Linked DNA regions of Homo sapiens: all the other regions are linked to region 1. Evidence: promoter capture Hi-C in 16 types of primary human blood cells and fetal thymus (Javierre and others, 2016). All regions are on one chromosome and are shown on one strand. The core of a region is centred on a gene start or on the middle of the fragment in contact, and the rest is flanking DNA. Distances in the headings are between cores, read along the strand shown. Region 1 holds the start of DDC (dopa decarboxylase). Region 2 overlaps COBL (cordon-bleu WH2 repeat protein). Region 3 overlaps COBL (cordon-bleu WH2 repeat protein). Region 4 overlaps COBL (cordon-bleu WH2 repeat protein). Region 5 overlaps COBL (cordon-bleu WH2 repeat protein). Region 6 overlaps COBL (cordon-bleu WH2 repeat protein). Region 7 overlaps ZPBP (zona pellucida binding protein).

Region 1 (3,446 bases), core at 947-3,446:
CTCTTGGGCCTTCAAACTCAGGATGAATTACACCACCAGCTTATCTAGTTCTCCGGCCTGTAGATGGAAGACTGTGGGACTTCCCAGCCTCCATAATCACATGAGCCAATTTCTACAATAAATCTCTTCTTATATTCCTATATCCATATCCTATTATTTCCAGTTTTCTGGAGAAACCTGACTGATAAAGTGCCATGGTTGGGAAATCCTGCCCTAGATTTCTTTCTTTGGTCCTCGAAGCCTCACCCCTATTCCCCATAAATCCCACACCTGCAAGAAGAAAGGAAATGTAAAAAGAGTCCCTTCTGGGAACGGATGCTGATTCCTATGTAGATTTCTCTATTGAGAGATAACTGTTGCTCAGTAGTTGGACACTACTAGTTCACTTTTTTGAGGATTTCAAAACTGAGGTCTCTCTTCTCTATGGATGTTTTTTTTCCAGTCCTATTGCTTCAAATATCATCTAAACACTTTCAACCCATAACTTTATTTCCTGTCTGGGCCTCTTTTTCTGAGCTGTACTGGACATCTCAAATCACACGATTTGTGGATATCTGAAATTTAATTCCCAAACTGAATCCTTGGTGTCCTTCACCTCCCCACACCCAATACTGGTCCACCCCAGTCTTCTTCCTCTCAGTCTATGACCGTCATCCCCTGCCCACTGGCTTCATCACTGGGTAGTCGTTCCATCCCCTTGACTCCTCCCCTTGTCCAGCAACCTCCTAACATGCACACACACACACGCACTTATGGGGAATATTAGCACGCTTCTTCATCTCAAGCCCCCCCTCCCTCCCCCAGCCCATCTCCTAGAATGGATTCACTTGAATTCACTCCTGGTTTGCAGGAAAGTGCAGAAATCCAAGGAATGTGGTGGGAATTGGTGGTCCAACTTAAAGGGTCTAACCCTTTCACCCTTATCTCCCTCTGATCCATTTTCTACCCCAGAGCCAGAGTGATCTTAAACCATAAGTAAGCTAAGGTTACTGCTTTCTAGAAACACTTCAATGCCTTCTATTACAGTTGGGGGGATACAAATTACGTAACGTGGCTTGCAAGACTCCCCCTCCCCTACTTTGAATGGTCCTTAGGAGTTGGCCTTCTGTCAGGGCCTGGGAGATGCCGAGCTTGATCCTCAGTAACTTTGCAGAGGCTGTTCCCTCTTTGGAGCCCTTCCCTCACTCTTCCCCTTACCAAGGACAATCACTTCTTCGGTTCTCAGCTCCTGTGAGACCCCAGGCGGGAGCATTTGGGTGTGCGTCATTGGAGGGCTCACTTGCCATTCTTTCTCTTTTCCCTCTTTCCTCCAATGGCTCCTGTGGAGGTTTTGAGACTCCTCAATGTCACTCTGCTTCTCTCTCCAGTTCCAGTCCTAACAATAGGAACCCTAGGTGCCCCGCCCCAGCCTGCTCCAGTCCCCTAGGATAGAGCAAGGAGAGCTCTTCCCTGCATCTAGCCTGTGACAAATGGCTCTAGTGACAGCCCTCTCTGCCTTGTTTCCAGTCCTTTAATGAGCTGCCCGCAGCCAGCCTCACTCTCACTCTGCTCTTCACACCCACTGAGCCCCACGCTTGGAGCTGCTGGGGGTCTGCCAGAAAGACCAGCTCCTAAGATCCCTGCAGGCTGTGCCTGCTCAACTTCTCAATGTGGCTTTCTCAGCCCTGCTTTGTGCTCTCATAAAATTCTATCGACTTTGGGGTTTTTTTATAAATTTGTCCAAATTCCACTCAGAGTATTGTTTCATGCATCTCAACTATGATTTTGATGGGTTTGGGGAAGGAAGGTGAGTTCCTGGGTTCTGCTGATATCTGAACCTGGAAATCTTACCCATATTGCTGAGTGCTGCACCGGGAAGTGCAGGCTTACTTTGGGGCTGCCTTCAGGGGCAGGAGGCTGTGTGCAATGCAGGCATCACCTGGTGCAGGGCTGGAACATATCAGATGACTTAATGGGCTCCAAACTTGAAATCAGGGCTGCTTAGTAAAAGATGGGATGTATGTAGAATTACATAAGAAAGATCCAAGCTTCCAGGATTTGGAATGAAACAGTCTCTTCAGAATGTGCTCTCAGGATTCCCAGAGGCGAGCTATTTCTCAAGATTTCCTTGACCTTTGTCACCATCAGGAATTAATGTTTAACTGGCACATGTGGCTGGAAATGCAAGAAGAGGGAAACGTGTGGCTTGGAGTTTCAAGAAGAGTGACTGTCTCAGTGCCGAGTGCCTCAGCAGCTTCTCCACATGCTCTTCAGTCCCCAAAGTTGGAGAATCCCATCAAGGAGAGTAGCCCTGTAAGGAATTCGAATTTCCAGCATGTAAGTCTCTGATTTTATACCTACTCAGATTGTAGTAGTGGAAAACAGCAACATGTACCTTGACTCTCTGGCCCCATGTTACTGAACATTTGCTTAAAGGTTAACTCACTTGAGGGAGCTTGTGTGGTGCTTTCTCTTCTGCTGCAGGCTGGCAGGGGTTTTTGTTCAGTGGGGGCTGTGCACTTGGTGGCTCTCCATGCACACACAGTCACTCCAGTGACACATGTTTGATAGGTGCTGGGAATGATTTCATGACTGGCTCAGTAGCAAATGCGGGCCAGATGTGATTCTATTTTTTCCATGCACCACCAGGGATGGTGTTGGGTATTTTATTCCCCCAGCCTCTGTTTCTTCTGTAAATGAGGATTTTCTTAGTATCTACCTTGTGAGGATTAAATCCCATGATTTTATGGAGGTGATTAGTAAATGTGAACTCTGCCCTTCCCTTTATAACATCTGAGGCTCCGTCAGGGCTCTCTCCTTTTGGTGTATGTTATAGTTTACTTAGAGGTCAATTTGGTGTCTACCTATGCAGTGTGATTTGAGGAGAATTAGAAGATCTTTCCCACCAACTTGCCATGCTGAGTACAATTCCCATCTGAAAACATATGCGGATAGGAATTTCTATTGGGAGAATTGTTCGGTTATCGACTTCAAGGAGTCGAAGTTCTCCTGGTTTTAAGTCTGTTGTCGGAAGTATATAAGAATCAAAGCTTAATCGATGGAAATCATTGCTCTCCATCATGCGTGAGTTAAAACCATTACTTCTGAGTGGTCAGTTTACATTGGGCTCTGTCTAGAAGGTTTGCCTTCTTCACCTCCAGTCACATCCCCATTTCACAAGTGAGCAAACAGCCAGAGGAGGGGAGGAGGATGGCATAAGATCTTGCAGCTGGCAGAGACGAAATGTGAATGTAGCCCGTTTGCACTTGGTGCTGTCGGGCAGCCAAGCAATCCAGTGTGTAGGTCCAGGGCGACAAGCGCTGCTCCCATGGCTGGGGTAAGTCCCTCCAGCATTCAGCCTTGCTCCCTGTGCTTATCTGGATGCGGTGTAGGATGAAGATGACCCTATAGAACTCTACCCTGGAAGTCCTGGCAAAGTGGATATGTGACATTTTTGAAACCAGGGA
Region 2 (3,618 bases), core at 473-2,972, 570 kb before region 1:
AATGAAAGTCAAATAAAAGGAAAATAAGCTTTGCTGAGATGAGTACATTTTAAACAGAAGCAATCAAATATGTACATATATATATACGCACACACACACCCATGCATACATAAATGTTTGTGTGTGTGTAAATTTAAAATTAGGACCCATGTCAAAAGCACTTGTGGCAGATGATACTGGTTTTATTTTGAGCTGGCACTCAGATCTGGAAACGGTTAGCTTCCTCTTCTTCCTGTCTTCTCTCCCCAGATGCGCGTATGAGAGTCAAATCACTGATGTTTTACACTGAATGTAAGGAGTTAATTGGCTATCAGTGGTGTGGTGACATGGACACAGAGAGTTTTGCATTGTCTTTGGTGGGCGCCATTGAATTCGACTATCCATTGAATGACAGCAGCTGGCCTGGAGGAAGTTTAAATCCCACCAACCTAAGTCCCATGAAGCCTGAGATAGAAGGTTCTGTTTGCTTAGTTTTCTTTTCTGTTATTCATTGCTTTTTCTTAATGATTTATCTGGTTGCACTTGCAACTCCTGAGAAAATTTGATAAGATCATGACTGCCAACATCTGTGGATTTTGGTGCCAACCTTTGGTGAGAGCTATGACTCACTTCCCTACAAAAAAAGAACTTGATATTAAAAACATGTATATATTGACAAGCTTGGACAGGAAATCAAACCTCTCTTGCAGGCAAGCAGTGGCCTGTCCCTCATGAACTTTGCCACTTTGTAGCAGGAGACAACCAAGGAAACTGGGATAATAGGGGGGGCCAAGCTGTTTTGACTCCAGACTGCATGCATTAAGCTCTTGGTTTTCCCTTTGACTTCGTATTGATATGAGTCAGGACTTTAAAGGACTCAATACTTCACAATGTTTTCCTCCCACATTATTCTGTGGATTGCTTTCTAAATTCTGCGCACAAATTCCAAAAGTAGGGAAAGAAGATAGAAATGAAGCACAAGTATTCGCTGGACAACATAAAGTTTTTGGCTTCCCATGGGTTGAAGGTTGAGAAACACTGTTGAGTAGCAGAACTGAGAAGAGGGTCTGGTGGCTCAGGACCACTGGACCCTGCAATCGACCTCCTTGGGAGCATTGTGGGAGGTGGGAAGAGATATTTGTTAATTGTGTAGAGCAAATTAGGGGAGAAAAATCATCTGTTCTATTGAAATTCAGTTAAGTTCCAGAGTCACAGATGAAGGCCTCATGAGGAGCCCATTGTCTGAAGATAATCAATATCAGAACTTCTAGGAGGACTGGGATGGGGTGCACTTCCGCCTTCTGACTTTCTGCCATTCAAGGTCATCTCAGTGTGGCCCTCATGAGGTCATGGCCACCCAAAATAGGTATCAGAGAAGAAGGAAACCACATATATTAGACACTTCTAATGTGCTTTATCTAAATTACTTCATTTAATGCTTGTAACAACTTTGAAGGAAATGGATTTTTCCCCATTTTAAAGATGGGGATGTACCTACTTTATGGGGTCTATTCCCATTCCTTACCTTAAAAAATAGATAATGCAAAATGTCCAGGATGCTTATGACAGCAAAAAAAATTATGAATTAAAACCTGAAATCAATATGAAATGGAAGGGGGCTGTAAAGTTCTTTTAAGGGAGTATTCTGCACAGACCTTCCTTAAGTGCTCAGGGCACTTACAGGACAGAGGTGGATTCACAGCAGTATTGATTGATCAGTCAGGCAGGCATAGTTGTGGTGAGGACCGAGGACAAGAGGAACTGGGAGTTCCATGTCTAGACAGGGTGGAATGAAGACAAGCAATTAGATATGTGGTTGTGGAATGCACTGCCATGGACATCGTGTTTCTGGGACGTCAGATGGGGCATGTGTGCTTTAGAGATAGCAGGTGGCATGGGTACAGGTGTGTAGTTCTTTGACTACCACAGCTTTAAGCATCCTCCAAAATGTGTGTTCACATGTGTGAGTGCACGTTTGTGAGTGTGTGCACATGTGCGTGAGTGTGTGCATGTGCAGTCACTGTCAGCAGACGTTATGGATGAGGAAACAGAACAGTGTGGAAGGTCCCAGTGTCCATGCTCTGGCCATATGCTAAGTGACTACTGATGAGGAAAGATGGGGTTTGCATTCCCCCTGGATCTGGGGGTGTTTGTACAAACCAGCCATCCAGCAAAACACCTTTCCAGCTCCAGAACTGTGAATAGCAAAATCCCTTCTCTGGTTTGCTTCCTGTGCTTCATTTAGTCTTCTAGATCCTGCAGGGTTAAATAAATCTTGAGTTGCATCTCCCTGAGTCCTCCCTGTTGCCATGGAGGTGGATGTAAGGCAGAGTTTATTTTGCATGGCTTATTTGCTTAGTAATGACTATGATGGCTGCAGAACTCAAGGACTCAAGGGAACAATTTACATTTTTCTGTAGGAGCCTAAATAGGCATTGACGAGTGTTCTGGGTGTTAGTTTCTTTTCTGTTATATCACCGTCACCTGTTTCCTATGGGAACTCTGCACCTGATAGCCAAAGCATCGGGCATCGTTGATATTCAGTGTCTGCAGGGAAGCACTAATGGCGTAAAAAGCAGCCTTCATGGAGTGCTTTGTCCTTTGGCTTTAATATTTAAGCACAAGAAAATCTGTGACTCAATTTTTTTTCAGGAAAACAAATGATAGTATAACTGGTAGAGCAACAGCATTTGTGTCTGAGCACAAATAATACTGGGCTATTGTTTAATATGATGGATTTCCTTTATATCTTCATTTTAAATATGGAGAACTAGTTGTTCAAATGAAATCTTACCCACAAGCTTATTATGTAAAATATGAAAGCATAGTGACCCAGAGGGTCATCTGTCTATTCATTGTCTCAGGAAGGTTGACTGAAGGGCCCTCCACCTACCAGGAACTGTTTGGAGCTGGGATTACATACAGTTCTCAGTAAAAATCAGTGATAATTACTGTCTTCATTGAGTTCACATCTTAATGGGAGACAAAGATACAAACAAGCAAGTGTAATAATCATAATAGCTAACACATATTGGGTACTTACTTTGTGCCAAGAACTCCTTTTTTTTTTTTTAAAGAAGTGGGATCTCACTCTGTCTTCCAATGACACCAGCATGGCTCACTACAGCCTCAAACTCAGGCTCAAGAGATCCTCCCACCTTAGCATCCCAAGTAGCTAGCACTAAAGGTGAGCATGACCACACCCAGCCAATGTGCCAAGAACTCTTTCAAGCTCTTTTACATCCAGTCACTCATTTGATTCACATGATAGCTTTGTAATGCAGGAACTATTATTTACCCCAGTTTTACAGGAGATAAACTGGGGTAGGGAGAAATTAAAAATTTGCCCAAGGTTTGTATCTTACTCCTGACACCAAAAAATACCTCGTCTAAGGTCAAAAGAAGGAATCAAACCCAGGTAGTGTCTCCAAGGTCTGTGGGCTTAACCCCTATACTGCATTGGCTCTCAGTGTTGACTGTGTCCATGGTAACAGGTGGAAGATCTGCCAGGGCTAGGAGAGAAGAGGCACCAGGACACAGCATGGTACCATCTTGTTTTCAGTTTGAAGTTAGAGTGCTGGTTCTGCTGGTTCCCCGAATGCTTTCTGCACTAGCACTTACATGATTCTATTAAGCAGA
Region 3 (3,630 bases), core at 139-2,638, 590 kb before region 1:
AGGATCTCACCACTTCACACAGCCTGGCCTTGTCACCTGGCCCAGGCCTCCTGGCGGCTCCACTTCCCAGCACCTGTGGTCTCCAAAGCCTCCTCCCCACCTCCCTGCTTTGCGCCCTGCGGTTTCACGCGGCATCCAGAGCGCAGCGCGCGCGGCCGCCAGGTGCGCGCGGCCGGGGGCTGCAGAGAGCCTGCAACGCCGCCCCCGCTGCCCTCCTCCAAGCTCCTGGCCAGCTCTTCGTGTGTCTTGATCCAGGTTCTTAAAAAAAGGAAGTGGACTATAGACAGGGTGTCCCACACACTGGCAGTCCCAGGGTCGGCCCTTGGGGCTGCTGTTTCTCAGCTCGCCTCCCTGCCCACACAGCCCCTGCACCCCCGCGCTGTGCCTTCCCTGTCCCCGGCGCTGTGCCTTCCCTGTCCCCCACGCCTTCCCTGTCTCCCACCCCGTGCCTCGCTTTCCCTGTCCCCCGCCCTATGGACACCCCTGGCTCAGGCCAGTGTGCTTGTCCCAGCATCGCGCTCATCTCCTGTTTTTATTTGATGTTACAGATTTCATTTCATTAGGAATGAGTGTTTCCTCCCCGACTTTTGCCTGCATTCTTTTCCAGCTCCTCCCTGGAAAAGGGCAGGGGCGGACACTTTCCCAGCCTCCCACCGTGCTCTGTTCCTAGTGGCACCTGCCCCAGGGTCTGGGCCCCTAGGGATGCGTCCTCTACCCTGGAGACTGGGATCTTCTTAAATCCCCACTGCTCCCTTGTTGTCTCCTCAGCTAGCACCACCTTTGCTTCCTCTTCCAGGGTTGTCACATTTTCTTGATTTCTGCATCTTAAATATGTCCCAGGCGGACCTATAGTCCTTCCCTTTTCTTCCTGTTGAGCGATGGTTACAGGCTGTGGACGCGTGTGAGTGAGGAGGCTCCTCCCCGACCCTGCCCTTCCGCCATCCGGTAGGTTTGGGTCCATTCTTCTCCATTCTTTCAACATAAACTGCACCTTGAGGGTCTCTTCTCCTTTTTGAAATTTTGCATGGTACCAATTCATAGTAGATTACAGAGTAAAATAAATAAAATAAACAAATAGAAAATACATAGAAATAGTAAAATAAAAAGAATAATAAATAAACAGTCCCATATCAATCATCCACCATTAACAAATGTTAATGTGTGTTTAGCTACATTTGCTGCATTGTCTTTTTGTTAACGACTAAGAAACACAGCAGACACAGATGACACTGCCTCTCTAACACAACAACTGGCTCTCTTCTTCCTTCCCCAGGGGCAGCAACCCTTTTAAAAGTTTTATATTTTAAGAAGTATAGTGAAAGGCTGTCTGTCCATTAACAACACAGAGCATATTTTGTATGTTTTAACAATGTGTGTGATGATTGTCTGTATTTTGTTTATTTCAATTGACAAATAAAAATTATATATCAGTGCATTGTGCAACAGCTAAATCAAGCTAATTACCATATCCATGACCTCACATACTTATATTTTTGTGGTAACATTTAAAGTCTACCGTTTTAGTAATTTTCAAGTATATAATACATTCTTAGTAGTTATAGTCACCATATAGTACAATAAATAGACTTCCTGAAGTGATTATTTATTTTCCAAAGTCTGAATTTTGACTTAGAGAATAAGAACAATGAATATTGAGGGGGAAAAAATAAGGAAAGAAAGAAGGAGAAAAGAAAAGGGAGAAGAGAGCAGAGTGCCTCCACTAAAATCCCTCCCCACATAGACACTCGCCTCTCCAACCACTTGCCCTGGGCACACTTTGAGTCTGTCCCATCAGCAGACCAGGGGGCACTGGAGACACACAGAGGAGCCAGGCCAACCCCCTGCCCTCAGAAGACACCAAGGAACCCCTTGCCGGTGCTACTGAAACTCCAAATTCTCTGGCATTGCCAGGGGCCTTGTTTATTTTTTTTGAGGCGGAGTCTTGCTGTGTTGCCCAGGCTGGAGTGCAGTGGCATGATCTTGACTCACTGCAACCTCTGCCTCCTGGGTTTAAGCAGTTCTCCTGCCTCAGCCTCCCAGGTAGCTGGGATTACAGGCCCACACCACCACGCCTGGCTAATTTTTTTGTATTTTTAGTAGAGATGGGGTTTCACCATGTTGGCCAGGCTGGTTTTGAACTCCTGACCTTAAGTGATCCGCCTGCCTCGGCCTTTCAAAGCGCTAGGATTACAGGCGTGAGCCACCGTGTCTGGCTAGCCCTGGCCTTGTTAAAACTCTGATTTGAGGTATTGGGGCAGATGAGGCAATAGGAGAATCAAGCCTGAGGCCCTGGCGAGGAGGTAGAGTCAGAGGGCTCGGTTCTCCTTGTGAGAAGGGCGAAGGAAGGTCTGTACAGAGAAGGCAAAGCCTCAGCTAAGCTGCGGATGCAGCTGTGTGGCTCCCTCTCTGAGAGGGGAATCCAGCTTAGGGGCACCTGTGTTTCTATTTTAAGTACAGAACAGTTTAAGGGGGAGAGGAAGGAGAAGGGTTAAGAAATGAAAGTTCCCATTCTTCAGCAGTTCCATTTAGTGATTTGAAAGTGCACCTTAACTACAGTTCATTGTGTGTGTGTGTGTGTGTGTGTGTGTGTGTGTGTGTGTGTGTGAAGGGTGGTTTTTTATTGACTGTACATTGGAAATGTGTGTTTAAAAATAGCCTGAACAAATGACTAGCTATTTCTCAATATTTGACCCTCCATGTGGGGTGAGAAGGATCAGAGAATTCTTTTATTTGCTTGGCTAAGAATGTTTGCCATCCGAGATGATATATTCTGGATCTGTAATTATATGGTGAGCGTAACTCCTTTGAATGACAGCCTCCAATAAAACTGAATAATTCTGGGTGATGCTTCCTGCTGGGTGATTCCTGGGGAACCTGATGTCTCCTTCAGAAGAGACACTTCGGTGAGCTTTCAGAAAGGGACATTTCGGAAGTATTGGCTCTGAGCTTCAAACTGAGATAATTTGATAAACTTGGACAAGAATAACTACTGTCTGGACATCATGGGGAGATAAAAAAGAGGAAAAGAACCACAACAAGAAAAATAAAAGGGTAAGAAAGGAATTAATTTGCCTTCTTGGCTTGTAAATTTTGTGTGTGTGTGTGTGTGTGCAGAGTATTTTGGTTGAACTACAAAAATCAACATTTAGTGATATATCCTAAGTGGACTGTCTTTGATATTTGTTTTCTTTTAGCACAATGAATTTCTGTTCTATGTCGTCTGGATGATTTTCTAGCTTTATAGCAAAAACTATAAGCAAATTATAAATACAGGTGTTTATGAAGCTTATTTCTTTGAAAATACAGTGGTTTATGGAGAAACTATGATTCCCAGTTGCATTTGAATTTCCTTGATCTCTCTGTGTTTTGCTTGGTTGCATGGAGATTGGCAGAAGTCAATGTTGATATTTTCATTACTGATGATGCAGGCTCCCTTCCGTAAGAACCATCACAATGGGACCTAGAGTAGATGCTTCAGGTCAGTTCTAAGCAATTCACACAGGAGGGCTTAAATAGTCCTGAGCAGATAACGTTTTTCTGTTTAGGTTTACTGACTTGGATACCACTCTGTTTAACACACACTACCCCATAGGTGTAGAGCTTCTGAGTGTTCCTTCATTTATGGTTAGG
Region 4 (3,338 bases), core at 330-2,829, 610 kb before region 1:
ATGCTTCCCTGGGCCTGATAATTAAAAGGAGCTCACATTCTGTGGATAAAAAGTGTATTTATTTCATTTCCCTCTTTTGATACAAAATATTTCTTCTTGAAAGCATTGATGATTAAACGCTGAGTGTCAAGGGGTCCCTTGTCACTGGGAAGGGTGATTCTCAGATAGCCCTGTCCCATGTTAGGGAGGAAAGAAAAGATGTTTTAGTGAGGAATTTTAAGGGAACCCCAAAGCCAAATTAGGATGGCATTACAGAGTGGCAAGAATGAAACCTCAGTCACGTCAGAAATTTATTAGCTGCTGTTGCTTGTTGAATCATCTCTAGTCTTTGGAATACCATTTTAGTTTTCTCAGAAGAAATAAAACCACAAGCAATATATAGTATTAATAATCTGAACAGTAAAAGCGTAATGCACACAGGATTGGATTATAGTCAGAAAGATAATTTATATGCCAGATCAAACAAACCTGAATTCCATTAGGGAACAACTGAAAACATCAGGCAGAACATTACATCCTGCTTCTTCTTTAGAGACTTGTAGCCAGGAGGTAATTCAGGATTCAGTCCAAATTGTGGGCAAATAATAATATCACAAAAACAATAGTCTGCTAGAACTGAATAACAGGTGGGTTATTGAAAAATAATTTTTCCAGTTCCTCCAGTTTTACCAAAGATAAATCATAGTAGAACCAGTTTATTTGTAAAATTAGTTTTACACTTATTATACTTGGCATGATTATTTGCATAAGATGCAGCAATAAGAGTGGCCATACTGACTCATTTTAGTTGGCTTTGCTGGAACTTTTTGGTTAAGGAATCTCAGATTAGATTTTTAAAAGCCTCTTGTGGCTAGGAAGCCAAGTTAAGGATTTACCATCTAACTGTGCCGGTAATACCTGTATGAATTCAGTGAATTTCTTTCTTCTCGAGATCTCAAAATATCTTGAGATTACTGGGCCTGTCAGAAAGTGACATGCTTTTACTTACTGCAAGGTCAGCAACCTTGTAAGGGAACCATGTCGACAAGGAACCGGGCCAGCCATTTTCTAAGTCCACTGGCTATAAAGTCAACTTCAGCCCTTCAAACCAGTCTGGTCATATCTGAAAATCTGTCATTCCAGTCTAAGCCTTGTAAAATAACCAGTGCTTTCAATGTGTCTTGTTAAAAAAGAAAACAGATCCTTGTTGAACTTATGCAAGTAAGTATATTGCCATAAAATGAAAATACAAATAGTTTCTGAATTTTGGAGAAATCAGGTAGAATGAAAGATAAATGTCTCAGTTTGCCCACCATAGTGTACTTTACCCAATTGCTGTAAGCTATAAATAGCTCAAAAAGAAAAGTTTTCTTGATGCTAGAAAACAAAACATGAAAAGAACCTACTGTGTTTCAAACAAAAAGAAGTCACAAAAATCATTTCAGTGCTCTGTCACTTCAGTGCCATGTACTTAGCTTTTATTCTGCTTGAAGTTGGGTTAGCGATCTTTATGAACTCATCAGGTTTGAAATTAGATTACTGGATTTTTTCTTTTTGCGTTGTTCAACGGCATGATCTCCAAAATTATCAGAAACTTGTATTCAGAGTGCTTTTTGTGATCTTCTTCATAAGGTTCCTTGAAGATACAATGCTTTGGCATTTACAAAGAACTTTTAGGAAAAGAGAGCATCAGAATAAAGCAATTTACTGTTTATGTCAAGACACATCAAATTTTTCGGTATCTTTTATAATTATAGAATGCATATTAATAGCATATTCATATAAAAATAACCTGAAGAAAGTTAAGCACCATCTCTTGGCTGGGCGCGGTGGCTCACACCTGTATTCCCAGCACTTTGGGAGGCCGAGGCAGGTGGATCACCTGAGGTCAGGAGTTTGAGACCAGCCTGGCCAACATGGTGAAACCCCATCTCTACTGAGGAGTACTAAATACAAAAATACAAAATACTAAAATACAAAAATTGCTTGAACCTGGGAGGCGAAGGTTGCAGCGAGCCAAGATTGTGCCACTGCACTCCAGCCTGGGTGAAAGAGCAAGACTCTGTCCCCAAAAAAACCAACCAACCAAACAAACAAAAAAGAAAGTTAAACACTCTTATTTAACAATGCTTCCAGTATGATTTTCACATACCAAATATGCCTAATATGCCGCTTTTGGAGTTCCAGGGTCCCTGTTTGGATTTCCAGGAGCCCTAATCTCCAAAAGTTAGTTCAATGTGAGAAAGACTCATTAGAATTTGAAGTTTCATTTTAGGAAGTTTGTCAAATGTCAAAGGCTTGAAACACTTGATTTCAAAATGAGATCACAGTAAAATAATATTCATTTAGTCAAAGTGATTTTTTTCAAAGATTTCAAAAAGCAAAAACATTTACTCTTTGATTAAGAGGAGACTTGGCTGGGCACAGTAGGTCATGCCTGTAATCCCAGCACTTTGGGAGGCCAAGGCGGGTGGATCGCCTGAGGTCGGGAGTTGGAGACCAGCCTGACCAGCTTGGAGAAACCCCGTCTCTACTAAAAATACAAAAATTAGCCGGGCATGGTGGCAGGCACCTGTATTCCCAGCTACTCGGGAAACTGAGGCAGGAGACTAGGTTGAACCCAGGGGGCGGAGGTTGCAGTGAGCCAAGATCATATCCAGCCTGGGCAACAGAGCGAGACTGTCTCAAAAAAAAAGAAGAGAGACTCAGTTTTCAGACCTAATAAAGACACGGTGAGTGTGTCTTCCTCTCTCTTCTTTTTTTATTGCAGCTTATTCAAAAGGTAAATAAAACCTTTTATTATTTTTTATCAATACTATATGAAAACCCTGTTCAAAAGAGAAAAACAAGTTTTGCCTTTGTATTAATGTATTATTACCAATAAACCTAATTTTAATAAAACCTTATAAACAAATCCATCCAACCTCATTCAGCTTTGACCACACAGATAAGTTTTCTATAAATCTTTTATAACCTTTTGCAATATTTTTCATTTTTTTCTAACTTCCTATACCCATTTAGTTTTATCTATCATTTTTGTATTTCATTAATTTAAAACAGCTTTTAAATAACCTTTAAGCCATGCAAAATTGTTGTTCCTTTAGCAAAAACCACATAAAACCACATGTATATATATATATATAGAGAGAGAGAGGGAGAGAGAGAGACAGAGAGTGAGAGAGTGTGTTTCACTCTTGTTGCCCAGCCTGGAATGCAATGGCATGATCTTGGCTCACTGCAACCTCCATATCCCAGATTCAAGTGATTCTCCTGCTCCAGCCTCCGCAGTAGCTGAGATGACAGGCACGAACCACCATGCCCAGCTAATTTTTGTATTTTTAGTAGAGACCGGGTTTCAC
Region 5 (3,697 bases), core at 667-3,166, 550 kb before region 1:
GAGTTTGTTTGTCAAAAATAATTTGGTTCCCTTGGTTCTTAGAGGATGATGGTTTTATAGCTGTTACTTACAAAACCAATGTTTCCCTTAGTATTGAGCTACCTCTTTATTTAAACTATTAGAAAATGTGTCGCCATATATATCACTAGGATATATATGGTAATGAGAACCTAGATTAGGTAGCCTAAATACTATGGTACCTTAGAAGAGGTAATAATATCACCAGGGAAACTTAGTTTATAACCAAACTGACAGAATCTCTGTATTTGTCAGATAATGTCCCTGTAACTTTGGTAGGTATGTTTTAACCTTTTTATGTGTCTGAATTAAACTGTGTCATTTGTAAAACTTTCCTATGTGATGTAATCTCTGGTGACTTTAATTGTATATTAGAAAATAAGATGTTTTCAAGTGACTCTGGGACTGAGGAAACTAATTTTATATTTGGGTATTTTGAGCTGCAGACATGGGTCTGACATCCCACATGGCTGCAGGAAAGCTGGACAGCATCGATTTGCAGATACTGTGCTCTGGCTGTGGATTCCTCTCTGTGGCTGGGTCCAGCCTGCTCCAGCAGTGTAGAGCGTAGTTTGCTTGTTGAATGTAGGAGGGATATTTGGAGGACATAGGCTTTGCCTGGATTTGAATCCATCCCAGACTCCACCAACACTAACCTATACAACCTTGGGGAAGTTATTGAACCTCCAAGGGCCCCAGATTATAGAAGCGTAAAACATACTTTTGGTCTTCGTGACCAACACACCCTAATGTGACACCCCTCCCCCTCTCCCCCCCAGTGATTCACATCCTTGTATGAGCCCTTCTCCTTGAGTGAATTGGAATTTGGAACTTGCTTCTAACTTACAAGATATGGCAAAGATGATGGGATGTCACTCCCTGTGATTATAAAAGATTGTGAAATGCAGGTGGCCCCTAGGATGCGAGGATTGTCTCTGCTTAACAGTCAGTAAAAGGCCAAGTCTCTCAGTCTTGAACCCGCCAGAGAAGCAATTTTCAACAACCCCACTGAGCCTTCCCAATCAAACCTCCAGATAGAAACACAGCCTGCTGACACCTTGATTGCAGCCTTGTGAGACCCTGAGCAGAGGACCCGGCTAAGCCATGCTTGGACTCCCAACCGCTGGAAACTGAGATAACAAATGTGTGTGTTTGTGTTTAAACTACCAAGCTAATGGTAATGTGATATGCAGCAACAGAAAATTAATACAGTAGTCAATAGATTATATGTAAACTCAGGAAAGTAACTTGTGGTGCCCATTTGTTCTAGCCTAATTCAGAACTATGTGGCCAGAATTCAGGACAGCCACCGCCCTCTGGAAAGTGAGGAAAGAATACTAGAAAGGAGAAAGCCAGAGAGGGACAGCCATAAATTCTGTGGATAAATTCTGGCTAAATCTCTGGCTCAGCCTTGAACCATGCATGAAAAGGACAGATACCAAGCAGCCTGGCTAAGAACTAAAGAGCTGAACTGAGATTTGATTGCTGCTCAAGAAACAGGACTTAAAGTGAATCCAGTCAGCTTATTATTGCCCGTGAAGACAAAGTAATTTACAGTCTCCTGAGGAATATGAGGGAATCTAGAACCTCCTAAGCATAACACTCAACAATGTCCAGGATGCAGGCCAAAATTATTTAACATATGAAGAACCAGGAAAATGCGACCTATTCGAAAATGTGAAAAAGATAGTCAATAGAAACCAATCTGTAGATGACTGAGATGTTGGAATTAGCAGATAAGAATTTTACGACTGCTTGTAACTGTGGTAACAACATAATGGGAAATATGCTCATAATGAATGAAAAAAAGAAAAAATCTCATATGGTTAATAAGAACTATAAATAAGAACCAAGTAGAAATTCTAGAATGGAAGAACACAATAGCCAATATAAAAATTTCACTGATGGGCCCAACAACAGAATGAAGGTAACAAAAGAAAAAGGCAGTGAAGTTGAAAATAAATCAATTTGAAATATCCAGTTTCAAGAAGAAGAGAAAAATTTTGGAAAAAAAAGTAGATCCCCAAAGATTTATTTTTTCTATTTATTTATTTTTTCTTTTTATTCTGGGACTCTATTGACTCCAGAATAAGAAGAGAAAAAAATATTTGAAAAAACAAGGGCCAAAAGTTTTTTACATTTTGTGAGACAAAATTTACAAATTAAAGAGGTTTGGTGAATCCAAATCAAAATAAATAAGAAGAAAACTGTGCATAGCTACATAGGTACTTTATAATGAAATTACTTAAAAATAGACTTAAGGAGAAAATCTTATACACAAGTAGAGAAAAATGCCATATTTTGTGCAGGGGGAGGGGGGAGGGATAGCATTAGGAGATATACCTAATGTAAATGACGAGTTAATGGGTGTAGCACACCAACATGGCACATGTGTACATATGTAACAAACCTGCACGTTGTGCACATGTACCCTAGAACTTAAAGTATTATTAAAAATATATATATAAAAGAAAGTGAATCACTTTATCATCAGAAACAGTAGAATCTGGGTAACAATGGGACATCTTTAAAGTGCTGAAGAGACAAAACAACTGGTAATTCAGAATTACCTACCCAGCAAAAATATCCTTCAAGGATAAGGCAAAATAAAGACATTTTCAAATAAAATATAAAGAATTGCCATTAGACCTCCATAAAAGAAACACTTAACAGAAATTCTTCAGGCTGAAGATAAATGATATCAGATGGAAACTTGGACTCTTAGAAAGACATAAAGAGTGTCAGAAATGGTACATAGCTAGATAAACATAAAAAAACTATTTTTTCTCTTAATTTCTTTCCAATATATGTGATATATTTCTTTCCAAAATATATAAGATTACTTCCAATATATGTGATTGCTTAAAAATTATAATATTGTCTTTGGGGTTTATAATCTCTATAAGTGTAATACATAAGACAACTATAGCATAAAGCATGGAAGGGCTGGGTAAATGGACCTATGTGATTGTAAGTTATCCACATTTGATGTGAAGGGTTATAATACTTAATCTAATTTGACTGTAAAAGTTGAGCACACATATTATAATTGTTGGAACAACCATTAAACCAAATAATGCAAAGAGGTACAACTAATCCAGTGGTTAAATTTTTAAAACCCAAAAGTAAAGTAAGAACAGAGAAACAATAAACAGGAGCAACAACAGGAAACAAACTGGTTTATCTAAATTCAGCCATATCAATAATTACATTAAATGTTAACAGACTAAACACTCCAGTTAAAAGGTAGAGATTGTCAGAATGGATAAGAATGTTGTCTATAAGAACCTATTTTGAATAAAAAGACAGATACTGATTAAAAGTGAATGGGTAGAAAAGGATACCATTTAAACAGTAAGCATGAGAAAACTGGAGTGACTAGATGGGTAGCAGGTAAAATAGCCTTACATATTACTAGAGTTTAAGATGGACATTTCATAATGATTAAAGAATCAATACATCAGGAAGATTTCATACTCATATATATGTGTATGTACCTAATAACAGAACTTCAAAATACATGAAGATTTGACAAAATTAGGAGAAATAGACACATCCACCATCATATTGGAGAACAGCATGACTGAGAACAATCTCTCAGATAGAACAACTAGACAAAAAAAATGAGTGAAGAGATAGAGGATCTGACCAACACTACCAACTATCCATATAAATGATA
Region 6 (3,457 bases), core at 20-2,519, 660 kb before region 1:
AATTCTGTGGGCTGCAGTGTGATTGTTTCATAGACACATATTTCAGCCCTTACTTATCTGGATCTTCTGTTGACTGTTTTTCTGGCTTTCCGTTTTGTTTGCAGGGGCCAAGACAGTGGGGAAAGCTTTGATGGGATTTTCCTCTGATAGCTCTTCTCCTCTATTAGAAGGAATTCTTGTCTTCACAGGAACATTGCCCTGAGCTTGGGAGGTGCTGAGCTCCAAGAAAAGGTATTACATGGATTCTTAATCTGGAGTCCCTGGTCATCAGGGTGGTTTGCAGAAATAATGTACAAGGAAGAGGCTTAGGAGTCTGAGACTCAGGGGCATGTGGCAGTTTAAAAAGAGCAGGGTCTCTGCACAAGTCTAAGGAAGTCATCAGAGCTGGGATCTTTTCTAGCTCCTGCTGGGCACACCCATAGCAGGTGCTCCTGGCTGGTGGCAAGCAGGCTGGAGTGCATCTTGCCTGGAAGAAGGTCCATGGCCTTCATCAGATACTCAAAGAAGTACCTGACCCTAAAGGTGTATTCAGGGATGCTTGAGACTAATCTGGGGTCTGTTCCAGCTCTGCCACCTACCTCATGTCATGCCGGGGCACGTCCTTCCATCTCCCTGTGACTCCAGTCTTCCTCTGTCTCCTGAGGCAGTTGAACACAGTCCCCATGCGTCCATCTGAGCCTCGTGGAACCTTGAGCACTGAAGGAAGTTCTTGGAGGCCCAACTCAGTTTGCAAATAAGGCTTGTCCAGACCCCACATCAGAGTAAAGGGGGCGTCTCTACAACTGTGTGCTGGAAACCTTCACTGAAGAGTATTCTCTAACCTCACCGCTCATCAGCCGGCACTGCAGGGCACCAGCGTTCTAGTATGTGTCAAGGAGTCCAAACATCCTAGCATCAGTCTGCCAGGAACCCCGGTGCTTGTTTTCAAGAAGTAATTAAGGCTGGAGGCGGTGCAAAGTGTGTAGGTGGTGTCCTAGGCTCAGAAAGACCTGGGCTAGAATTCCAGTCTTTTCCAGCTGTGTGATTGTGAGAAGGTTACTTAACTGGTTGGATACTCAGCCACCCTGTCTGTAAAATGGGGAGAATACACTTGCATATGAAGTTGCCAGGGGTATTGAACATACACAGTGTGGCATGGTGGCTGGATCATGGCATGTTTAGAAAATGAGGGCTTAAATCAGATTAGTGTTGGACTCAGGGATGTGGGAGCTGGTACAGGATGCGAGGATTCCTCATTCCCCTCTTTGGTAACCAGTTCTGCAGGCTGCGGTAGCACTCAGCTGTCTTCTGGGCATTTGTTTCTGGACATCTTTCTGACTTTTTATTATTGCTGAGAAAACTGGGCACTGACTTGGCAGCTGAATCCCAACTCACTCCCTCACTCACTCACTTACTCACTCACTTAGTCACTCACTTACTCACTCACTCACTCACTCACTCAACGCAGTGGTGACCGAATTCCTTCCCTGGGCCCAGCACTTCACTTACCAGTGATGAACAAGAAAGTCATGGTTCCTCTTCCCTTGGTAGAGGGAAGTCTACAACTGTGGCTGCAAATAAATAGCCAGACACAAACCAGACGCAGCTTATGTACCGCTTGTAAACAGGATGAAGCAAACATCCTATTGCTGAAGAATCTCATGGAGAGAGAATGGCAACTCCCTTCTGCCTGCAGCATAAACAGACTCTCTTAGCCAGGAGAGCCGGGTGTGCCTGGTTTCTCTCTGAAATTCCCTTTAAGCACATGCGGTTTGCCAGCAGCCAGCCAGAGTAGCCAACATGGTAAACAGGCACCCATGGTGTAGAGGTGCCATTCAGGTCAGCTGGCCTCAGCATCACTGTGGATTTCCCAGTCCACTTTTCTTGGACAGTAAGAAATTGTTATACCTTCAGGTCCACAGATGACATTTCCAACTGGAAAGATGGAAGATGTAAAGCATAGTGCTTTTGAACTCAGGGTCTGGGAAAGTACAGAGACGCATGAATTTTCCCTTTTCAGCATGCAGTCCCTGTCTACCTCAGCCTGACCAGCCTGGCTGGGCAGTGGCTGTCACCTATAGAGTTAGGTTTTAATTCAGCTACCTGGGCCTCACACCTGCGATTTGCATTCACTGCACCATGTCACCTAAGACCCTCTGACTTTCAGTGAGTGGATTTCAAGCCTTCTGCTGAATGTTGAAGAGCTCTCAGAATAAAAACCCAGCTGGGAGCTTCCAGCTGATGTGGGAATTAACAAGCGTCATCCTGAAACTTAGTAAATGTGTGATGGTTTTAAGCTAAAATCATTTAGAGCTATGGTTGATGACCTTGGAAATGGCAGAAATGTTTTCATATATATACTTTTTCATTTTATAAACAGTTCCTGCCAGGGCACACCCAGGTTTTTCAACCTGAATAGATCAAAGGAAGCTTGAGTTGTGTGTGCTGTGATTCATTCCCTGCTGAGTCCCAAGGACCTGCCCTGCCTCCTACTGGAGGGGGTGAGAGGAAGGAAAGCTGGATTACCCAGCCTGTGTGCACTGCCAGCCGGGAGCACCTGCGATGGGTGTGCCCAGCAGGAGCCGGGCAAGGTCCCAGGTCTGATGGCCTCTTTAGACTTGTGCAGAAGGCCTACTCTTTTTAAACTGCCACATGCATCTGAGTCTCAGACTCAACCACATGACATCTGCACAGATGTTTGAGAAAGGCATCCCCTGCTTGGTAAGCTAATGACTTTTCACAACCGAGTACAGATGTGGAGTCCCCACGTAAATAGCAGCCATTCTTTCCCAGGCTGAGCCACTCACAGGCAGAGGAAGCCAGGCGTTTTCTGTTTTGTGCTGTGACTGTGTTAGCTGCAGGATGGTGCCTGCGTTTAACAGAAGCCACACTGAAAGCACGAAACAGACAATGGGGAACAAGCCTGGTCTAAACCTGTGCAGGCCATCCACGTGCACAGGCCATCCACACACACAGTCCACCCACACACACAGTCCACCCACACTCACAGCCTGCCCACATGCACGGGCCGCCCCCGCATGCACGGGCCGCCCACACGCACAGGTCACCCACATGCAGGCGGATCACCTGAGGTCAGGAGTAGCCTGACCAACATGGTGTAACCCCATCTCTACTAAAAATACCAAATTAGCCGGGTATGGTGGCAAATTTGGTAGCCGGGTATGCCTGTAATCCCAGCTACTTGGGAGGCTGAGGCAGGAGAATCACTTGAACCTGGGAGGCAGAGGTTACAGTGAGCCAAGATTGCGCCATTGCCGTCCATCTCAAAAAAAGAAAAAATAATAATAAAATAAAAAACCCAGACACCGTGGTGTGCTGTCTGTCAGTTGTCCCTAGCCCGGGCATGCTGTTTTAGCGTCTTCTCCTGTGATGTGCAGTACAGCATTTTTTTTTTTCCTTTTTCTCTTTGGGGACTTCTCCTCCTGCCCCAGGCTTTGTCTCTTTTTCTCATATATGA
Region 7 (3,488 bases), core at 639-3,138, 530 kb after region 1:
AATAATGTACATATACTTCTTTGTATCCTTACCACCAACAAAATAGGTTTTATTGCTCTTTTAATCTATATAGTGGGTGTAAAAAACTGTATCACTTATAATTTGCATTTTTCTTAATACTGTTATCTTTGAGCATCTATTTATGTATGTTTATTTTCCCATATAAGATTTTCAGTTTATATATTTTGCCTGTTTTCCTGTTTTTGTGCACTTGTCAATTTCTAACAGTACTTTGACTATAGATCAGTGGTTCTCAAATTATGGTCTGTGAAACTCTGGGAGTCCCTGAGACACTTTCAAGGGATCAGTAAAGTGAAAACTAATTTATTATTATACTAAGACATTATTTGCTATTTCTACTGTGTTGATATTTGCACTTATGGTGGGTGAATTACTGTCACCTATTTAGTAGAAAGCAAGGCAGTGGCCTTGAACTGTGCTGGCAATTGAATAACTTCTTAGTTGAGACACTGCTGAAAACAAAAGCCAGGTTAACAAGGGAGAAAGTGGCAGAAGTTTATGCGTGTGCTGTACCTATCATGCTGGAGAGGCCTCAAATCAAAAGTATCTCCGATTGGTGGCTTAGGGGCCTTGCTTACATAATATTTTAACAAAGAGCCACAAATCCAATTTAGTGACAAAACATAGGAGAGAGCAGTTCCAGTCTTCTAAAAGATTAGAAAATGTGGGATGATAGTAAAATCTGTTCCCAGATTCCTTTGGTGCCTGCTGGTGCTTTCTCTGGACAGATTAGCAAGTGTTGTCTCCAGTAAGGAAGGATTGGTGTCCTGCCATCGGGCAAATAGAGGCTAAGGCAGAATGGTCCCCTCCATTTTCAGCGTCTTTAACCTTACAATCCTCAATATTTGGGGAAGAAATATTTTGTTTTTCTTCAGTCCCCCTTTTACAGCTTTAGTTTTAGAAAGTTTTACATATTAAATTCCAAGTTGGTAGCTTTGGGGAGATTTGGATTAGAGGTTCTAACCTGGCAAAGGGTGAGAAACAGATTGAAACAAGTAGAAAGGAACAAATTTGGATTCCATATCTTATTGAATGAATCTCTTAGTCCTGAGAATAATAAGCTTAGTTGAACAGGTGAGCCTGATTTCAGGAGATGGTGTTAGAGGTGAGTTTTTTTTTTCAAATTTGGTTTCTATATGGTATAGGCACACTGGTATTTAGTTGGAATCATTTTTATGGAAAACACAGAAAAACAAAAGTTAACATCTGGAGCAGTCTGCAAACTAGTCTTTGAGTTTGGAGGGCAGTCAGCTGAGAATATTTTAGATTTTGACTCAAAACATTTCAGTTGGGATGGGCAGGGAGTGGCAATTTGATAGATTTTCCCAGATTGTAGTTTGAATCAGGTGTTCCACTGAACTTTCTGTACATACATAAGTTGTTGTAGTGATTTCTCCAAAGTTTGTATCAGGTTGTCTAGCATTAACTTGCAGGGGGCTTTAGGAAAAGCAGTTTTGATGTCTAGGGATTTCAAGTCAGATGAGTGAGTGGGAGAAATATTGGAAATTTTAGTCTGCAGAGTCATAGTCAGATATTGGAAGAAACTAAAAATTCAAGACTCAGCCTAGATAATTAAAAAAAAAAAACCCTCAAAAACAAATGGACAAAGCTAGAATCTAATAACAGGCACACTATAGTTTTTAAATTTTTCTTGAAACATAATTTTTCTCTCTCTGGTCACCTATTTCTACCAAAGATCACAGTGAGTCCAGTTTTGTTGTTAAGGAAGTTTTAGCCTCATTATAGTTGGCTTGATTAGTTATATAAACTGTAGCAAGGCCGGGCACAGTGGCTTACACCTGTAATCCCAGCACTTTGGGAGGCCGAGGCAAGTGGATCACCTGAGGTCAGGAGTTCGAGACCAGACTAGCCAACATAGTGAAACCCCATCTCTACTAAAAATACAAAAATTAGCCGGGTATGGTGGTGCACACCTGTAATCCCAGCTACTTGGGAGGCTGAGGCGGGAGAATCACTTGAACTTGGGAGGCAGAGGCTGCAGTGAGCAGAGATTGTGCTGCTGCACTCCAGCCTGGGCAACAGAGCTAAACTCCATCTCTAAATAAATAAATAAATAAATAAATAAATAAACTGTAGAAAGAATAATTATTGACGTTATTATAGACTCTTTTAAAGTTGGCTTTGCTGGAACTTGTCATAAGGAAAAGACTTTTAAAATCCTCTCCAGTTTAGGAAGTCAAGCTATGGACTCACCCTCAGATTTTACCTGTAGTACTTGAGTGAATTCTTTTCTTGAAGTCCCCAAAATATTTAGAGTATGCTATGCCTCTCAGAAACTGATATTTTTTTACTTACCACAAGGCTAGTAACCCTGTAAAGAACCATGTAGACAGGGTACTTGGGCAGTTTTTCCAAGGGATTAATTGGATCCTAGTTAACCTTTAGTTCCTTAAAGCAGCCTGGTCATACCTGAAAATGTGACATCGCAATCAAAGCCTTTGTAATATGTGTTTTCAACTGTGTCTTATTATGAAAGGAAACAGATTCTTATTAATGTTATGCAAATAACTATATTGCCATAAATTAAAAATATTTATGGTTAGTTTCTCAATTCAGAAGAAATCAGAGAGAAAGGCAAATGTTTTGATTTTGCTTTCAAAAATATGCTTTACCCAACTCCTGCAAACTATAAGTAGCTAAAAAAAAAGCTTTCTTGACTCTGGAAAAAAAAAAGTAATCAGCAATGTTTTCAACAAAAAGTGATAAAAATAATTTTAGTCCTACATCAGTTCAGTCCCACATAATTCTTTTTCTGCTTCATGTTAGATTAGCAATTTTATGAGTCCAGTTTTTAAAATTGGAGTTACTCAAATTCTTACCCAGTCTAATTGTATTATCTCAGTGATGTCAGAAATCTGTACTTAAGTGTATTTAAAGTCTATTCCATGAATCATCTTGAAGATACTTTAGGATTTGCGAGAGATTTTGAAGAAAAAACAAAAGCAACAGAATAAACAGTAACACATCCAGAATGTTTATTAGGGACCAGTTCTGTAGGCACTTTTGCCTACCAACTACAACAATCTCAGACTCCCAGAAGGCAAAAAGATGTTCAGTGCATCGGTTAAGAAGACAGTTTTATCATGAAGAAAAAGATTCCTGACTGTGTAGGGAGGTGTTTACCAGCCAAGGGCTAATCCTGCAAGCAGCCTCCCACCTGCAACGTTAACTCTTTTAGGCACATAAGCTGATCCTGAATTGTTGCTGGTTTGTGTGTACTTCTGCTGGACACTCAGAAGAGTATACTTTTGATACAGTGTTTCAGAGAATTTGGGGGATATTTTGACTTAAATTCAGACTTAATTCTATTTCAGGTAATACCTTGATATGAGTCAGATTTCTGGAGAGAAAAAGTTTTCTTTCCCTGTCCCCAGTCATACTGTGACTCAACTATAGTTCCAGCTCTGACCCCTCAGGTTCAGTTATTCTATGTGATATTTGTATAT

Evidence for each region. The method cuts DNA at HindIII sites, captures the fragments that hold promoters and counts their contacts. A CHiCAGO score of 5 or more calls a contact.
Region 2: a fragment that was not itself captured here is called in contact with the fragment with the promoter of DDC in region 1 in 3 of 17 cell types (endothelial precursors, erythroblasts and megakaryocytes); the score reaches 7.0 in endothelial precursors.
Region 3: a fragment that was not itself captured here is called in contact with the fragment with the promoter of DDC in region 1 in 8 of 17 cell types (endothelial precursors, erythroblasts, megakaryocytes and 5 more); the score reaches 13.0 in endothelial precursors.
Region 4: a fragment that was not itself captured here is called in contact with the fragment with the promoter of DDC in region 1 in 1 of 17 cell types (fetal thymus); the score reaches 6.1 in fetal thymus.
Region 5: a fragment that was not itself captured here is called in contact with the fragment with the promoter of DDC in region 1 in 1 of 17 cell types (erythroblasts); the score reaches 6.1 in erythroblasts.
Region 6: a fragment that was not itself captured here is called in contact with the fragment with the promoter of DDC in region 1 in 2 of 17 cell types (M0 macrophages and endothelial precursors); the score reaches 5.5 in M0 macrophages.
Region 7: a fragment that was not itself captured here is called in contact with the fragment with the promoter of DDC in region 1 in 4 of 17 cell types (activated CD4 T cells, naive CD4 T cells, fetal thymus and 1 more); the score reaches 8.4 in activated CD4 T cells.

Annotation. Positions count from the first base shown.
Region 1 is chr7:50,564,155-50,567,600 of GRCh38, reverse strand. It overlaps DDC (dopa decarboxylase), which reads left to right and starts at 2,196. Exons shown (of 15, transcript NM_001082971.2): 1 at 2,196-2,316. The HindIII fragment of the contact is 1,002 bases long and covers 2,030-3,031 here.
Region 2 is chr7:51,137,022-51,140,639 of GRCh38, reverse strand. All of the region lies in intron 5 of COBL (cordon-bleu WH2 repeat protein), which reads left to right. Among named protein-coding and RNA genes, the nearest start is that of COBL, 180 kb to the left of the region's middle. The HindIII fragment of the contact is 2,121 bases long and covers 662-2,782 here.
Region 3 is chr7:51,155,674-51,159,303 of GRCh38, reverse strand. All of the region lies in intron 5 of COBL (cordon-bleu WH2 repeat protein), which reads left to right. Among named protein-coding and RNA genes, the nearest start is that of COBL, 160 kb to the left of the region's middle. The HindIII fragment of the contact is 3,798 bases long and covers 1-3,287 here.
Region 4 is chr7:51,177,965-51,181,302 of GRCh38, reverse strand. The region is part of intron 5 of COBL (cordon-bleu WH2 repeat protein); the gene reads left to right. Among named protein-coding and RNA genes, the nearest start is that of COBL, 140 kb to the left of the region's middle. The HindIII fragment of the contact is 6,245 bases long and covers 1-3,338 here.
Region 5 is chr7:51,115,719-51,119,415 of GRCh38, reverse strand. All of the region lies in intron 6 of COBL (cordon-bleu WH2 repeat protein), which reads left to right. Among named protein-coding and RNA genes, the nearest start is that of COBL, 200 kb to the left of the region's middle. The HindIII fragment of the contact is 8,014 bases long and covers 1-3,697 here.
Region 6 is chr7:51,224,507-51,227,963 of GRCh38, reverse strand. All of the region lies in intron 1 of COBL (cordon-bleu WH2 repeat protein), which reads left to right. Among named protein-coding and RNA genes, the nearest start is that of COBL, 91 kb to the left of the region's middle. RefSeq lists enhancers at 712-1,911, 2,076-2,784, 2,785-3,457. The HindIII fragment of the contact is 2,284 bases long and covers 128-2,411 here.
Region 7 is chr7:50,032,303-50,035,790 of GRCh38, reverse strand. The region is part of intron 4 of ZPBP (zona pellucida binding protein); the gene reads left to right. Among named protein-coding and RNA genes, the nearest start is that of ZPBP, 59 kb to the left of the region's middle. The HindIII fragment of the contact is 1,608 bases long and covers 1,085-2,692 here.